Regions from separate parts of the Homo sapiens genome. Here all the other regions are linked to region 1. The links are contacts of gene promoters, found by promoter capture Hi-C in blood cells and fetal thymus (Javierre and others, 2016). All regions are on one chromosome and are shown on one strand. The core of a region is centred on a gene start or on the middle of the fragment in contact, and the rest is flanking DNA. Distances in the headings are between cores, read along the strand shown.

What was found. Contacts are between HindIII fragments. The CHiCAGO score rates a contact against its expected background, and 5 or more counts as called.
Region 2: a contact is called between a fragment that was not itself captured here and the fragment with the promoter of HOXA2 in region 1, in 1 of 17 cell types (neutrophils). The highest score is 6.3, in neutrophils.
Region 3: a fragment that was not itself captured here is called in contact with the fragment with the promoter of HOXA2 in region 1 in 1 of 17 cell types (neutrophils); the score reaches 5.3 in neutrophils.

What each region holds. Positions count from the first base shown.
Region 1 is chr7:27,100,984-27,104,267 of GRCh38, reverse strand. HOXA2 (homeobox A2) reads left to right here and starts at 1,585. Exons shown (of 2, transcript NM_006735.4): 1 at 1,585-2,158; 2 at 2,803-3,284. The coding sequence starts at 1,768. RefSeq lists an enhancer at 911-1,750. The HindIII fragment of the contact is 6,069 bases long and covers 619-3,284 here.
Region 2 is chr7:26,773,986-26,777,269 of GRCh38, reverse strand. All of the region lies in intron 4 of SKAP2 (src kinase associated phosphoprotein 2), which reads left to right. Among named protein-coding and RNA genes, the nearest start is that of SKAP2, 89 kb to the left of the region's middle. The HindIII fragment of the contact is 3,443 bases long and covers 1-3,284 here.
Region 3 is chr7:26,803,152-26,806,435 of GRCh38, reverse strand. All of the region lies in intron 4 of SKAP2 (src kinase associated phosphoprotein 2), which reads left to right. LOC124901606 (a long non-coding RNA gene) reads right to left here and starts at 874. Exons shown (of 3, transcript XR_007060265.1): 1 at 789-874. The HindIII fragment of the contact is 3,407 bases long and covers 1-3,284 here.

The sequences.
Region 1 (3,284 bases), core at 336-2,835:
GGCTTGGTGGATTTTTTAAAAATTATTTTTTGGTACCTAAAGGTGTTATCTTTTGAACCCTCTAGCACTGTCCAAGATGCGCTCAGTCTCAAGTCTCCGAATTGGAAAAAAGATAATGAAGGAGAACGAAAACCTTTATAATTCCTCCTTGGGTCGCCTCCTCTCCCCCGCAGTGCTGTTTCCCACAACAGAACCCGGAAGCAAACATCCCCGGTGCCCAAGGATCAGGAAGGTGTGGGAGGCAGTTCAGGCTGCCAGGGAGCACTCGCTGTATCTAAACCAACCAGCCCCCAACCAGAGCGACAAGGACAAGAAGAAGGGTAGAAAAAAAAGAGAGAGGGAGGGAAAGAGAGGAGCAAGCATCTTCTCTTTCCCTGCTGGTAACTTCCAACAGACTTCCTGGAAATCGGAAATACTCACCGCACCCGAGCCCTACGGGTATGAAACCCAGAATGCCAGGAGCCGCACGCGCCTGCTCGGGGCGGCATTTCTTTGGCTGGCCGCCGCCCTGGCTACGGGGATTTGGACACATGGACCTGGGGTTGTTGTCTCGCTTGGCACATGCATCTTTCTCCAGCCACTCCTGAGAAGTTGATGGCGCAGGAAGGTCGGGAAGCTTCGAGAGCCGCCTCCCGTTTTCCGCTTCCCGCCGGAGCCAGATGCAAAGCTGCCGTGGAATAGCCTGCTAACAATGGGCCCGGGGCGCAGACTCTGGGCTGGACACTGGGAGGGGGGCGAGAGGCTGAGGGGAGAAGGGGAGGCGGACAGAAGAGAGAGGGAGGGAGAAAGGGGGAGAAGAGGAAAAAGAGGGAAAGGGACAGACAGGAAGGAAAACAGACCGAGAGAGATCAGTTTTGAGATCCAGGAACTGCTTTTAGGAAAAGTGAAGGAGGAAAAGGGAAAGAAAAGGAAGACCCCTTCCCAACCAAAATCTTTCCTTTCTTCTCTCTTTTCTGTCTTCTCTTTCTCCATCTCTCAAACTCTCTCTTCTTCCCTCTCTCTTTATTCTCCCTCTCTCATCTCCTCTCTTCCTCTGCTCCTTTCTCCTGCTTTAACAGAACTTATGTGGCTGGGACGCAGGGCCCTCGGGTGTCAAAACTTTGAAGATTAATGGATTACTTTGTTAATGACTGCAGGCGTCAGACTGAGGTGCTTAAATGATTTGTGAGGTGCGAGGCGTCTTCCCGACAGTCCCAAACAATGCGCGGAGTGTGCGGGGGAGGCAGAGGGCAGCCACCGGCGGGACCGACAGCAGGGCTTACACTCGCGCACATTCACACACACACACACACACTCCCAGGCACACACACTAGATAGATCCTTGCAGATCAGGAGGCACGCAGGCACCCTCGCCCCCACGTACTCCGGGACATCCCCACCCACACCAACATATATGTATTTTTGCTCTGAAAAAAGTGTAAATAAAGCCTCGCTGGCCCCCAATGAGGCGTTCCTTCCCGACTTTTTTGGATCAATCAAACAGACAGTGGCTTCTTTTGATTAAAGCCCAAATTGTCATTGGGCAGAAGCAATCATGTGACAGCCAATTCGGTCCAATTTCAACCTTGTCTCCATGAATTCAATAGTTTAATAGTAGCGCGGTCCCCATACGGCTGTAATCAGTGAATTAGAAAAAAAACACCCTAGCAGCGATATTCTATGATAGATTTTTTTTCCTCTGCGCTCGCCTTTTTCCTAGGCCTTGCCCCCCCAAAGCCCCTCCAAAAGAGGGAACTTTTTCTCTGAGGGGGCTCCAAGGAGAAGGCCATGAATTACGAATTTGAGCGAGAGATTGGTTTTATCAATAGCCAGCCGTCGCTCGCTGAGTGCCTGACATCTTTTCCCCCTGTCGCTGATACATTTCAAAGTTCATCAATCAAGACCTCGACGCTTTCACACTCGACACTGATTCCTCCTCCTTTTGAGCAGACCATTCCCAGCCTGAACCCCGGCAGTCACCCTCGCCACGGCGCTGGCGGCCGCCCCAAGCCGAGCCCCGCGGGCAGCCGCGGCAGCCCGGTGCCCGCCGGCGCCCTGCAGCCGCCCGAGTACCCCTGGATGAAGGAGAAGAAGGCGGCCAAGAAAACCGCACTTCTGCCGGCCGCCGCCGCCGCCGCCACCGCCGCAGCCACCGGCCCTGCTTGCCTCAGCCACAAAGGTCAGTCCAAAGACTTGGCCCCAGGTCTCTGGGACCCTCTTCCTTCTCCGGGCTGCCCCGAGAGTGGCTGTGGGGGGAGGGGAGAGTGGGCTGGGAGAGAAGGAGGAGAGGGAGAGATGCTTGGTTGCCTTGTCCCTGCCCCTGTGGGTTCAGGAGTGGGTTTGATGGAGAGGAAAGGGGATCCTGCGCTCTACAATGAGACATATATATTTTTAGGAAGTGGGGGGAAACTTTCCCGAACTTGTGTAATGTGGGATGATTTATTTGAGTTGGAACTGACCTCCTCCTGTCTAGTTGTCCTAGAGTTTGGCTTTTTGACAGTAATGAAGAGTGATAGATCGCTCTTGCTCAGCTAAGCAGCTGACGCATTAATTATAAATTGTGTTGTGGCTAATATAAAGTTTGCTCCCGGATGAAGAGGTTGGGGGGAGCCACAGGCATGAATTCGATAGAGATGGAGGAGACGGGGTCTGCCCAGGCTGGGCTCCCAGGAAAGGCAGCACAATAGCTCTACTGCATCCAGGGGCGGCCATTTTGTTGCAGTTGATCTTTTCTGCTATATTTATTCTCCAGTGGAATAACCCCGCTCGGACCCCTCCACCTCCAACTGTGCGTGTGTCTCTTGTTGGTTTCCCTTTCCGCAGAATCCCTGGAAATCGCCGATGGCAGCGGCGGGGGATCGCGGCGCCTGAGAACTGCTTACACCAACACACAGCTTCTAGAGCTGGAAAAAGAATTTCATTTCAACAAGTACCTTTGCAGACCCCGAAGGGTGGAGATTGCAGCGCTGCTGGATTTGACTGAGAGACAAGTGAAAGTGTGGTTTCAGAACCGGAGGATGAAGCACAAGAGGCAGACCCAGTGCAAGGAAAACCAAAACAGCGAAGGGAAATGTAAAAGCCTTGAGGACTCCGAGAAAGTAGAGGAGGACGAGGAAGAGAAGACGCTCTTTGAGCAAGCCCTTAGCGTCTCTGGGGCCCTTCTGGAGAGGGAAGGCTACACTTTTCAGCAAAATGCCCTCTCTCAGCAGCAGGCTCCCAATGGACACAATGGCGACTCCCAAAGTTTCCCAGTCTCGCCTTTAACCAGCAATGAGAAAAATCTGAAACATTTTCAGCACCAGTCA
Region 2 (3,284 bases), core at 469-2,968, 330 kb after region 1:
TCAACTACTTCATGTCTTTTTCTGTCGTATTCAGGAGGGTATTTGAGTGTCATCCTCTGGAGTTGAAGAAACCAGATGGCTGCTGTACAGGCAAATGTATTTCATGTTAAAATATTTTTTAAATTTTTTTCTTTAAGTTTATAATATTTTCAGACATTTAACATTTTTTCCTCTGAATATTAAACCAATTAATGATTTCAACTCTTTTGACCTCCTGGAAGTCCCAGCTACATTTTGGTTTCCTGAGAAAGCACTCCAGATTCCTCATTTGGAGACCTGAATCACTGGTTTGTGAGACAGAACATTTGGGAATGGCATGTAGTTTGGAATGATGACAGCACAGGATGTAGATGTGCCAGAGGTGAGAGAAGGTGGAGAGGTAGACAAGAGATAGATTTTGAAGGGCTTTGTATGTTGTGCTAAAAAGTCAGGCTCTATCACATAGACAGTGAGGAGCCATTGTAAGATCTTAATGCAGGAATGACATATCAGATTTGTGATAGGTGTCTAAGTAAGAGGACCTTGGCAGAAGTATGGAGAATGGCCTTGAAATACCAGAAGTAGGGACAAGCTGTTGTTGTTGATCCAAAAGAAATGATAAATTATAAGAGCTTAAAGAAATGGTAGTGAGGAGTAAGAGGAGGGCATAAACTCAGATATTTCGGAGATAGAGTTGATGGGACTTAGAGACTGATTAGCTATGGAGGGTGAAGGAAAAGAAGTAGAGATGAGTCTGAAGTTTTGAGATGACTAAATAGATGTGATGCCATTCATAGAGATAGAGATTATAGGAAGGAAAGGAGGTGGTTGGAATTAGGTCAGTCATACAGAGGAAGGAGGTAATGAGTTCAGTCTTAGACATTAAATTTAGAAGATAAAACATTTAGGCATTTGAAAATATCCATATGGAATTTAAGAGAAAGATCTTGGCCAGAGTCTTCAGCATACAGGGGGCAATAGAAGTTATAAGTGTGGGTAAAATTACACTGGGAGGGTGTGTAGAATTTTAGAAGTGAAAACACTGAAGATAGAATGCTGGGAGGATTTCACCATTAAGGACGGGGATAAGGGGCATAAGAGTCTACAAAAGTAGACTGAAAAACTGTATAAAACGACCAGGAGAGAATGGTTTGACTAGAAGCCAAAGGAGAAGAGCGTTTTAGGGGAGAGATGAGTCAGTAGTGTCAGCTACTTGAGAAAGGTAAGTACTAAAAATTGTCCATTGAATATGCAATCAGCATATGAGATATCCATGGAGCAGTATGTGCAGAAGTCAAATTGTAGTGGATTGAGGAATGAAACATGAAAAGTAGAGAAGCAAACTACTCTTCTAAAAAGCCAGGTAGAAACAAACTATGCTATATGCATACCTTGGAATACCAGTCAACAATAAAAAAGAACAAACTATTGATACACATGACAACTTGAATGAAACTTTGGGCAGTTACGCTGAGTGAAGAAAAGTCAATCCCTAAAGGTTACATACTGTATAATTCCATTTATATGACATTCTTGAAATGACAAAATTATGGAAATGGAGGACACAGAGTGGTTGCCAGAATTTAGGGAAGGGGGCGTGGGAGGGAGGTGGTTGTAGTTATAAAAGGGCAACAGGAGGGATCCTTGTGGTGTTGGAACTTTTCAGGATCTTGACTGGGTGCATACATTAACCTACACAGGTGATGAGATTCCATAGAAAACACACACACACACACACACACACACACACACACACACACGTACAAGTAAAACTGGGAAATCTAAATAATATTGGTGAATTGTGTCAATGTCAGTATCCTGGTTGTGTAATTATACTATAGTTTTGTAAAATGTTACCACTGAGGAAAACTGAGCAAAGTGTATAAGGGATTCTGTATTATTTCTGAGAAATGCATGTGAATCTAAAAGTATCTCAATAAAAATTTCAAAAAAATTTAAAAGTCAGGTAGTGAAGGGGAGAAAAGAAGGGACAATAGCCAGGGAGTTGCAAAGTTAAAAGGGGAACTTGATCATGTTTTTATGTTGTGGAGGAGGCAGCACTGGAGAAGGAGAGATTGAGATGCCAGGGAGAAAGAACTTTCTCTGAATCAGGAGGAAAAGTATAAGGTTGGGTGTGAATATGAATGTGTGTGTATATGTTTATGAGAAAAGCGAAGAGAGTTGCCTCTTGATAGTGTTTGTGTGCATGTAAATCTCTTAAGATTCACAAAAAAGGACCCTAATAATTGCAGATTAATTTTGTAATCAATGGCTGTGACAGACTTTGGTATTGTGAATTTAAAAGATCCCTTTAGAATAAGAATTAGCAACTCTTTAGTCCAAATCAACATGTGTGATGTGATACCATTTACCTACCACAGACAGTAACAAATCAGGTGCTTGTTAACTTACATCAGTTACCGGGCTGTTCCTTTTATTGCAGTTGTAGTCTGATAACTCAAAATATTTTCAACAGGGTTAAAAAAAGTCTATCTAGATTATTGGTGTTATCCACATCTCTCTGACCTAGAATTTGAATCAGCACCATGAAACACTTTACTATTTATAGTGTATCTTGAAATCCAAAGTTTTAGAATGGTATTGCTGGCTTCTTAGGCTTTGGCAAAAGAAGTGGTGGCATGATTCATATTCATTCTGGGAAAGAGTGAGTGAGGATAGTCACCTGGAACTGAGGGGTTGGCTATTCACAGGAGAGATGATTTTGACTGGTAGCATATACACATAGGTGTGTATGTATATATATATATACATACACACACACACACACACAACTTGATCTTGTTCTTTCTTCCACTGACACTTCGCATTTCAGTAAGGTAAAGAAGCGGGGATCATTTTTTCCCTCCTTTCTGCCTTTTGCATATTATGTGGGGTGTGTGTATGTGTGTGTGTGTGAGAAGACTTTCTGTCTTCAAAGTGGCCTTTGATATGCTTTTATTTTTATTTTTTATTTTTTTGAGACGGAGTCTCACTCTGTCACCCAGGCTGGAGTGCAATGGCACAGTCTTGGCTCACTGCAACTTCTGCCTCTCGGGTTCAAGGGATTCTCCTGCCTCAGCCTCCTGAGTAGCTGGGACTACAGGCATGCACCACCACTACCAGCTAATTTTTGTAATTTTAGTAGAGACAGGGTTTCACCATGTTGGCCAGGCTGATCTCGAACTCCTGACTTCAAGTGATCCACCCACCTCGGCCTCCAGAAGTACTGGTATTATGGGCATGAGCCACCATGTCCTGCCAATAGGCTTTTAAAATCTGATTTTACCTGTAAAAAAGTTGGAGTG
Region 3 (3,284 bases), core at 345-2,844, 300 kb after region 1:
CTGGCTTATTTATATTTTTTATATTGATTTGTTTATTTATTGATTGATTGAGATGAGGTCTCACTATATTGCCCAGGCTAGTCTCAAACTCCTGGGCTCAAGTGATCCTCCCACTTTGGCCTCCCAAAGTGCTGGGATTACAAAAGTGAGTCTAGCTTTTGATTTAAAGTGAGAGGTGTGTGATTCTTCCTTTTATTTGAAAACTTAGAAGTCATTGTAGGGTTATTAATTGGCCTAATTTCAATATTGTTATGTCTCAGGGAATAGGGAAGCCCAAGGAGAGGGAGAGAGACAAGGGGAAGAGTCAGTCAGTGGAACAATCAAAACATACACAATATTTATCAATGAAATATGCTATCCTATATGGGTGTGGCTCATGGTTCCCAAAACAATTACAATGGTAACTATAGATCACCGTAACAGATATAATAATAATGAAAAAGTTTCAGATGTGAAAATTACCAAAAGGTGACACAGAGACACAAAGCCAACACATGCTGTTGGAAAAATGGTGCCGATAGACTTTCTCGACAGAGTTGCCACAGACCGTCAACTTGTAGAAGGTGCGATGTCTGCAATGTGCAATAAAGTGAAATGCAATAAAATGAAGTGTACATATATTTATTATTAAGTAATAAACCTTTTATTCTCACATTTCTGTGAGTCAAGCATTGGGGAATGGCTTAGCAGTCTCTGGCTTAGAACTATTCATGAAATTGCAGTCAGAATTTTAGCTGAGGCTGCAGTGATCCGAAAGTTTGAATCCACTTTCAGGGAGGCTCACTCACATGGCTGCAAGTTGGTGCTGACTGTTGTCAGGAGGCCTTGGTCCCTTTTCACATGAGTTTTTCCACTGTCTACTTGAGTGCCCTCATGACTTTGTAGCTGGCTTCCCCCGAAGAAAGAGCCGAGTAGAAGCTATATATTTTTTTATGACCTAGTCTCAGATGTCACATAGCATCACTTTAGCCACATTCTGTCCTTTAGAATCAAATGGGTGAAGTTGACCCCCATTCAAGGGGAAAGGGATTAGGCTCTGCCTTTCGAAGGAGGAGTGTTAAGGAATTTGTGAACTCATTTTAAAATCAGCATACCTGATTAGAATAATGAAGAAAGTAATCACTGGTAACAGAAATAATTCCTACAAAAATTATGGTATACAACTGTCTAGAGACATTTTCTGTACATATATGACATCATAGTCTGTTGATTGTTTCATAATCTGATTAAAAATTTTTTATTTTAAAGAGACAGGGTGTCACTATGTTGCCCAGGCTGGTCTCAAGCTCAAGGGAACCTCCCACATCAGCCTCTAAAGTAGGTGGGAATATAATTGCTCACCACCATGCCCAGCTTTATAATCTGATTTCAAAACTAACCCCTGTTAAAATTGTAGTATATTATCTGTCTAGAGACATTTTCTGTGCATATTAGACATCATATTCTGGATACTGTGTTTTATACTTTAATTTTTTCATACTATAGGAAACATCTTTCCATGATAGTAAGCATTTTTTATACATTGGCTGTTAATCTTTTAAGGATTTCCCAATAATGGTATTTCACTGTTAACTGGCTTTTCTTTTTACTAGTTGATGGTGAATTTAAAAAATATTTTATTCATTATTTGCATTTTTAATAAATTGCCTTTTTATTTATTCCTGCATTAAAAATTGGCACTTTTTTTTTTTTTTTTTGAGACGGGGTCTCACTCTGTCACCCAGGCTGGAGTGCAGTGGTGCTATTTCGGCTCACTGCAACCTCCGCCTCCCGGGTTCAAGTGATTCTCCTGCCTCAGCCTCCTGAGTAGCTGGGACTACAGGTGCGTGCCACCATGCCTGGCTAATTTTTGTAATTTTAATAGAGACAGCGTTTCACCACATTAGCCAGGATGGTCTCAATCTCCTGACCTTGTGATCTGCCCGCCTTGGCCTCCCAAAGTGCTGGGATTACGGGCCTGAACCACCAGGCCCGGCCCGGCACATTCTTTTTATTAAACATTATGTGTTAAGGATTCTAAAACATTATCATGTAAGGTATAAATATTTCTTCTTTGCTTATAATTTGTGGTATTGATTAAAACAAATTGTAGAAGTATAGAGTTAGAAAGGATAACAGAGGAAATTTAGTCCAACACTTCTTTTTAAAATTTTTTTAAAATTATTTTTTAAAAAATTTTGTGGGTATATAGTAGATGTATACATTTATGGGGTACATAAGACATTTTGATACGGGCATGCAGTGTGACATAGGCACATCATGGAGCATGGGCCATCCATCCCCTCAAGCATTTATCCTTTGAGTTCCAAATAATCCAATTACATTCTTTAAGTTATTTTAAAATATACAATTAAGTTACTGTTGACTATAATCACCCTATTGTGCTATTCAATAGTAGGTCTTATTCATTCTTTCTATTTTTTTCATACCCATTAACCTCCCCCTCCAATCCTCCACTACTCTTCCTCGCCTCTGATAACCATCCTCTACACTCCGTGTCTATGAGTTCAGTTGATTTGATTTTTAGATCCCACAAGTAAGTGAGAACATGCAGTGTTTGTCTTTCAGTGCCTGGCTTATTTCACTTAACATAATGATTTCCAGTTCCATCCATGTTGTTGCAAATGACTGGATCTCATTCTTTTTTATGGCTGAATAGTACTCCATTGTGTATATGTACCACATTTTCTTTATCCAGTCATCTGTTTATGGACACTTAGTTGCTTTGAAATCTTAGCTATCATAAATAATGCTGCAACAAACGTAGGAGTGCAGATATCTCTTCAGTATACTGATTTCCTTTCTTTTGGGCATATATCCAGCAGTGGGATTGCTGGATCCTATGGTACCTCAATTTTTTGTTTTTTTGAGGAACCTCCAAACTGTTTTCCATGGTAGTTGTACTAATTTACATTCCCACCAATAGCATACAAGGGCTGTCTGTCATTCACATGCTCGTCAGCATTTGCTATTGCCTGTCTTTTGGATATAAGCCATTTTAACTGGGGTGAGATGATGTCTCATTGTAGTTTTGATTTGCATTTCTCTGATGATCAGTGATGTTGAGCACCTTGTCATATGTCTGCCATTTGCATGTCTTCTTTTGAGAAATGTCTGTTCAAAGGTTTTGCCTATTTTTTGATTGGATTGTTAGGCTTTTTTCCTGTAGACTTGTTTGAGCTCCTTATGTAGTCTGGTTACTAATCCCTTGTCAGAGGGGTATTTTGCAAATATTTTCTCCCATTCTGTGTGTTCTCTCTTCATTTTGTTGATTGTATTCTTTG